Linked DNA regions of Homo sapiens: region 2 is linked to region 1. The links are contacts of gene promoters, found by promoter capture Hi-C in blood cells and fetal thymus (Javierre and others, 2016). All regions are on one chromosome and are shown on one strand. The core of a region is centred on a gene start or on the middle of the fragment in contact, and the rest is flanking DNA. Distances in the headings are between cores, read along the strand shown.

What was found. The method cuts DNA at HindIII sites, captures the fragments that hold promoters and counts their contacts. A CHiCAGO score of 5 or more calls a contact.
Region 2: a contact is called between a fragment that was not itself captured here and the fragment with the promoter of RCL1 in region 1, in 1 of 17 cell types (fetal thymus). The highest score is 5.2, in fetal thymus.

The regions. Positions count from the first base shown.
Region 1 is chr9:4,790,793-4,794,617 of GRCh38, reverse strand. It overlaps RCL1 (RNA terminal phosphate cyclase like 1), which reads right to left and starts at 1,674. Exons shown (of 9, transcript NM_005772.5): 1 at 1,391-1,674. The coding sequence starts at 1,526. RefSeq lists enhancers at 924-1,423, 1,498-1,547, 2,368-2,417 and a silencer at 1,628-1,987. The HindIII fragment of the contact is 3,785 bases long and covers 567-3,825 here.
Region 2 is chr9:6,013,002-6,016,826 of GRCh38, reverse strand. RANBP6 (RAN binding protein 6) reads left to right here and starts at 1,203. Exons shown (of 1, transcript NM_012416.4): 1 at 1,203-3,825. The coding sequence starts at 1,220. RefSeq lists an enhancer at 1,325-1,384. The HindIII fragment of the contact is 2,610 bases long and covers 289-2,898 here.

The sequences.
Region 1 (3,825 bases), core at 425-2,924:
TAGAAGTCCATCTTCTTACCATATCCAGCTAGTGGCAAGTTCTCTGAGCTAACCTGAGGGTAAAGTGGATGGAGAGCTGGCTGAGAATGCCACACAGCAATCAAGCAAACACTTTGCCCAAGGGTCAAACTAAGTGGAACACTTGTTGACGGAAAAGTCGTGGCATAAACCATTTGTGGTCTCTCCCTAACTTTCTCAGTGTTTTTGAGCAGTAGAGAGAGGACAGGAACCACCAACACAAGTTTTTCCTACCATCACTAGGTTTCTCACCACTGTACCTGGGATATTCTGCTTCTTTCCTTCCTAACCTATCTCCGTCAATAGCATGGCATCTTCTGCCCTTTATGTGCAGCCAATCACCACCCAAGAGAGGCAGAGATCTAACTATCCAAAAAATGCATTCAGACAGATAAAACAAGAGCCAGTGCAAAATGAAACACATCAGCGCCGCTCAGGAAGCTTCCAGGACCAACCACAAACACTCTTTTTCAATTTACAGACAGGTTTTTTCCTTTTTCACCTGACTACTGACTCGCCCAACTTGGGATAACCACCAGTCAGAAGCTTTTAAATGCATGTATCTCATGCCAGGGGGCCAGGTGTAAACCAAGGCCAGTTGAAAACCGGCGCCATTTAATGAGATGTGGGTTTAAATGGGCCTATTTCTTTTTAACCTACCATTGCAGAGCAAGAAGTGAGCTTGGAAGCCTGCAGTTTAGCGATTGTCACCGACCCCTTTTCTAAAGTCAAGGCAATTAGGCCCATGACTGTTAAAAGTCTATCTCAAAGCTCCTGTCCTGCGCACATCAATCACAGTCACGGCTGAAAACAAACACAGAATTTTAAAAATTTCTTTATCCACACCCAAGGACAAGTGTGAGGGCAGCCGAGAAATCATGGCGACAGGAACAGCCGGTGTCCAAGGGGGCAGCTGCTTCTGAGAACTGCTTTGAGACAGGGCAGAGAACCAACCCAAGGTACTTTTCTCTCCCAATGTCTCTCCCCCGGCTCATTCACCATATTTCGGTCCAACAAACTGTTTTTCTCCTTTGAGAGGTTTATGGCGAGGGCAAGAGGGGCCGAAGGGACGCGAAGGGGCGACGCCAGGGATTTGTTGCTACACGTAAAGCTGGAAAACGTGCAGCTGTTTACTACCAGCGCCCCGGAGACGCCGAGCGCAGCTTGCAGCTGAGCGCTCCCCTCGGGCCCCGACCCCGCCTCCCCCACTGTGCCTGCCCCTCCGGCTTTGGAGGCGACGCGCCACCTGCCCTCCCCGACGCGCTCGCCGGACGCCGAGCCGCCCAACCAACACCGCGCGGGCCCCCACGGCATCAGCTCGGTCTCCCCTCAGCCCCCGCGCCCACGCCGCGCGCCGCCCACACCAAGTTACCTCGGAGGCCCGGGTTGTCGTCTCTGGCCCGAATCTTTCGGATTTTGACGGGGCGCCCGCTCAGGGTAGACAGGACCAGACGTTGGCGCAAGAAGTTGCACCCTGCGTAGCTGAGGGAGTGCGCCTGAGTCGCCATGTGCGCGCTCTCCGAAGAGACGTGAGCAGCCCGAGAGCGGCGACTTCGGACAGACGCGGGACTCGTGACTCCGATGGTGGTGGTGGCGGCGACACCGACGGCGGCGGCTCGGGCTGCCTCCAGCAGCCCAGACGCGTCCACGTGGTTTGGAACAGGAAGACGGAGAGACTAGACACCGGGTCAGAGGGGAGCGGGGCGGAGCCAGTGGCCACCTCCCCGCCTCCCCGCCCGACCGGGGCGGCCCCCGCTTCGGGCCACGCCGCTATTGGCCCGCGCCGGATCAGGGCGGTGCCCGCGCCGCGCCTCCATTGGCTTCCGCTGAAGCTGGGCGGTGCCCAAGCCGCGCTGCCATTGGTCCGTAGTGGAGCTGGGCGGTGCCCGGGCCCTGGCAACAGCGCGCGGCTGGAGGGAACGCGGGAGGATGGCCAGGGAACCCCGGCGCGGGAGTTGCCAGTCGGGGCAGTCTCCTCTGTGTACCTCCTGGCGTGGTAGCAAGGGGAGATGGCGGACTGAGATTGATGCCTACGACGTGCCGGATTCTTAGCATTACTACTTACGGCAACTACTGGGGTGAAGATGCTATTATCTACCCCTCCTCTTTCTTACTAAGAGAGACAACAAGGGTTGGTGCACTCACCCTATCGCAGGGATGCCGCTCAGCGCACTGCCGGCGCAGTCCCGCAGCTCCATGCTGTAACCCTGCAAGGTAGAGCCATCCTGTCCTACTCATGGATAAAGGCTCGAGGAATATTGCAAAGCTGACAGTGGCAGCCTATACTGAGACCCGAATCCTCCCACAGCAGGCCGTTGCTTATTTTATTGAGACACCTCTTTGCCCCTTTCTCACGGGTCCCTTCGTTTATCGTCATTGCGTTTCATGGCAATTCAGGCCCTCCTACCTCGCATGCTTCAAGATAGATAGTTGTAATAACTTCACACACACACACGCGCGCAATGCTTTTTCCCTCTTTCCCGTCCTCCTCCAATCCTGCACAAGAAAATCTTCCCAAACGTTGGATTATTTCACTTCTCTACTCAAAAACCTTCCAAAATGTACAGTTAACTAACAAATGACTACACAAGTAGAAGTCCGATATCATAGTAATGTGGGTTTGTAGCCATTCCTGGACAACACTCACCAAACCATGAGTCCCAGAATGCACGGGGGTTCGCGGGGGGAAGGGGGGCGGGGTATGATAGTGTCTGAAAGCGGTGGGAGTTTAAGATTAAGGGATGTAGCTAGCCTTATGTAGACAACAGTGTGTTATAAAGTGGAGTGGAGTGGCATGCTCATGACTCACTGCAGCCTCAACTTCCCGAGTTCTAGTAATCCTCCAACCTCAGCCTCCCCATTAGCTGGAACTACAGGTGTGCACCACCATGCTCAGCTAATTTTTGTATTTTGTATAGACATGGGTTTTTGCCATGTTACCCAGGCTGGTCTCAAACTTCTAACCTCAAGCGATTGGCCCACCTTGGCCTCACAAGTGTGAGCCACCACTCCCAGCCTTTAATCCATTTTTCTTTGATTTTTGTAAATGGCAAGAGATAGAGATCTAGTTTCACTCTTTTGCATATGGATATCCAATTTTCTCAGCATCATTTATTGAAGAGACTGTCCTTTCCCCAGAGTATGTTCTTGGCAACTTTGTCGAAAATGAGTTTACCGTAGCTGTGTGGATTTATCTCTGCGTTCTCCGCTCTGTTCTACTGATCTATGTGTCTGTTTTTATGCCAGTACCATGCCATTTTGTTTACTCTAGCTCTGTAGTATAATTTGAAGTCAGGTAATGTGATTCCTCCAGTTTTGTTCTTTTTGCTTAGGACAGGTTTGGCTATTCTGGGTCTTTTGTGGTTCCATATAATTTTTTTAATTTTTAATTTTTGTAGGTAGATGGTACATGTATATATGAGGTACGGGAGAAGTTTTGATACAGGCATGCAATGTGTGATAATCACATCCTGAAGGATAGGGTACTCATCCCCTCATGCATTTTATTCTTTGTGTTATTATACAAACAAAACAATTATACTGTTTTAGTTATTTTTAAATGAAAATTAAATTATTGTTGACTACAGACACCTTGTTGTGCTATCAAATAGTAGATCTTATTCTTTCTAATTTTTGTACACATTTATTATCCCCACCTGCCCCCCAACATCCCCACCCCCTCTATGTTTTCCAGTCTCTAGTAACCATCCTTCTACTCTCTATTTCCATGAGTTAAATTGTTTTGATTGTTTGATCCCACAAATAGGTGAGAACATGTGATGTTTTTCTTTCTGTGCCTGGCTTATT
Region 2 (3,825 bases), core at 344-2,843, 1.2 Mb before region 1:
CCCTTCATATTTCAGTTTAGACAAGATGCAAGGAAAATCTTGAGTAACTTGTCCTAGGATACAAAATTAATTTAGTGACAAGGCCAGGATGCAAGTCTGTCTTCTGATTATTAGTTCAGATCACTTTCTACCATACTTTACTCAGTTGTCTTTCCCATTCTTTATTATAACCAACAGGCCAGGTGATTCTGACACACACCAGATTTTGAGCTACCACTCTACTGCATTAGATGTGGTAGTGGGGAAGTAATTATTATTTTATTATCACACTTATTATTTTATAAAGCTTTATTGTAGTATTATTTATATGCCATACAATTCACCAATTTAAATTTAACAACTCAATGGTTTTTAGTATAATCACAGAATTGTGCAACCATCACAATTAATTTTAGAACATTTCATCACTCAGAAAGAAACACCCTATTTGATAGCAGTCATTCTCTATCCTCCCCTCCCCCCAACCTCTGGCAACCACTAATTTCTGTTATACAATTTGCCTGTTTGGTACCTTTCATACAAATGGAATCATACAATATGTGGTTGTGACTGGTTTCTTTCACTTGGCATGTTTTCAAGATAGACTTATTGTTTTAAAATTATCAAAGTAACAATATAGTTTAGAAATAAAAGAAAAAAATCACTCATAATCTGACCAGAAGCAGTGGCTCACACCTGTATTCCCAGTACTTCGGGAGGCCGAGGCGGGCAGATCACCTGAGCCCAGGAGTTCGAGACCAGCCTGGGCAACATGGCGAAACCCTGTCTCTATAAAAAACACAATTAGCCGGGCGTGGTGGCGCGCGCCTGTGGTCCCAGCTACTGGGGGAACTGAGGCGGGGAGGATCGCTTGAGCCCAGGAGGTTGAGGCTGCAGTGAGCAGGGATCGCGCCGCTATACTCCAGCCTAGGTGACACAGCCAGACCTTGTATCCAAAAAAAAAAAAAGTCATGATCCCATTCTAATCAATGCTTTTCTTCTCTCGCCTGCAAGTGCACGTTTATCTTATTGAAAAACAAATGGAGGATGCCATTGGCCTCCACACGGCTCTCACCTCTCTCCAAAACCTAGCTCGCAGCCTGCCAGAGCGCAGCTAGAGTTTCTGGGCAGAGGAGGGAGAAGCACCCCGCCCATCCCCGCCGGCGCCTCGCCTACGTCACTGCTTCGAGCCGCAGACCCCCTCCCTCCTTCCCGGTCGCGGTAGCTTTGACAGAGCGCAATGGCGGCAACCGCGTCTGCAGGGGTGCCGGCGACCGTGTCAGAAAAGCAAGAGTTTTACCAGCTTCTGAAGAACCTGATCAATCCAAGCTGTATGGTGCGGAGGCAAGCAGAGGAAATCTATGAAAATATCCCAGGTCTGTGTAAGACTACCTTCCTCTTAGATGCCGTCAGAAATAGAAGAGCAGGTTATGAGGTGAGACAAATGGCTGCCGCACTGCTACGACGGCTTTTGTCCTCTGGGTTTGAGGAGGTTTATCCAAATCTGCCTGCTGATGTTCAGAGAGATGTCAAGATTGAACTGATTCTGGCTGTTAAGTTAGAAACACATGCTAGCATGAGGAAAAAACTTTGTGATATTTTTGCAGTGCTGGCCAGGAATTTGATAGATGAGGATGGCACTAACCACTGGCCGGAAGGTCTGAAGTTTCTTATTGATTCAATCTACTCCAAAAATGTGGTTCTATGGGAAGTTGCACTTCACGTTTTCTGGCACTTTCCTGGGATTTTTGGGACCCAAGAGCGGCATGATTTGGATATCATCAAACGGTTGTTGGACCAGTGTATTCAAGATCAAGAACATCCAGCAATCAGGACATTATCCGCTAGAGCTGCAGCTGCATTTGTACTTGCTAATGAGAATAATATTGCTCTTTTCAAAGACTTTGCAGACTTGCTTCCTGGAATCTTACAGGCTGTGAATGACTCATGCTACCAGGATGATGATTCAGTGCTAGAATCCCTTGTTGAGATTGCAGATACCGTACCTAAGTACTTGGGTCCTTATTTAGAAGATACTCTACAGTTGAGTTTGAAGTTATGTGGAGACTCTAGGCTTAGTAATCTGCAGCGCCAGCTGGCCCTCGAAGTTATAGTGACCTTGTCTGAAACTGCCACTCCGATGTTGAAAAAACATACAAATATTATTGCACAGGCAGTTCCTCATATATTAGCAATGATGGTTGATCTACAAGATGATGAGGACTGGGTAAATGCTGATGAAATGGAAGAAGATGATTTTGACAGCAATGCAGTTGCTGCGGAGAGTGCACTAGACAGACTGGCTTGTGGGCTTGGTGGAAAAGTTGTTTTACCAATGACCAAGGAGCATATCATGCAGATGCTTCAGAGCCCTGACTGGAAGTATCGACATGCTGGATTAATGGCCTTATCTGCCATTGGAGAAGGATGCCATCAACAAATGGAATCAATTCTAGATGAAACAGTTAACTCCGTTTTGCTTTTTCTTCAGGATCCTCATCCAAGGGTGAGGGCTGCAGCCTGTACTACACTTGGACAGATGGCTACAGATTTTGCACCTAATTTCCAAAAGAAATTTCATGAAACAGTGATTGCAGCTCTGTTACGTACCATGGAAAATCAAGGTAATCAGCGTGTGCAATCACATGCAGCTTCTGCTCTTATTATTTTTATTGAAGACTGCCCTAAATCATTGCTAGTTCTATATGTGGATAGTATGGTGAAAAATCTACATTCCGTCTTGGTGATTAAACTTCAAGAGTTGATTCGGAATGGAACTAAGTTGGCTTTGGAACAACTTGTGACAACCATTGCATCAGTTGCAGATACAATAGAAGAAAAATTTGTCCCATATTATGATATATTCATGCCCTCACTAAAGCACATTGTTGAGCTTGCTGTTCAGAAGGAACTCAAGCTTCTGAGAGGAAAAACTATCGAGTGCATTAGCCATATTGGTCTTGCTGTTGGGAAGGAAAAATTTATGCAAGATGCATCAAATGTGATGCAGCTGTTGTTGAAGACACAATCAGACTTAAATAATATGGAAGATGATGACCCTCAGACCTCTTACATGGTTTCAGCATGGGCTAGAATGTGTAAAATTCTTGGAAAAGATTTTCAACAGTACCTTCCACTGGTTATCGAGCCTCTTATTAAGACTGCTTCAGCTAAACCTGATGTTGCTCTCTTAGACACACAGGATGTGGAAAATATGAGTGACGATGATGGCTGGCAATTTGTAAATCTTGGAGACCAGCAGAGTTTTGGAATTAAAACTTCAGGACTTGAAGCAAAAGCAACTGCTTGCCAAATGTTGGTTTACTATGCTAAGGAGTTAAGGGAAGGGTTTGTGGAATATACAGAACAAGTTGTGAAGCTGATGGTTCCTTTACTGAAATTTTATTTCCATGACAATGTTCGAGTGGCAGCAGCAGAGTCCATGCCTTTTCTCCTGGAATGTGCAAGAATTCGTGGCCCAGAGTATCTTGCACAGATGTGGCAATTCATATGTGACCCCTTAATCAAGGCTATTGGTACTGAACCAGATACAGATGTGCTCTCAGAAATAATGAATTCTTTTGCAAAGTCCATTGAAGTTATGGGAGATGGTTGCCTTAATGATGAACACTTGGAAGAACTGGGAGGAATACTGAAAGCAAAACTTGAAGGGCACTTTAAAAACCAAGAATTGAGACAGGTGAAAAGACAGGAAGAAAACTATGATCAACAGGTTGAGATGTCTCTGCAAGATGAGGATGAATGTGATGTTTATATTCTGACCAAAGTATCAGATATTTTGCACTCATTATTTAGTACTTATAAGGAAAAGATTTTACCATGGTT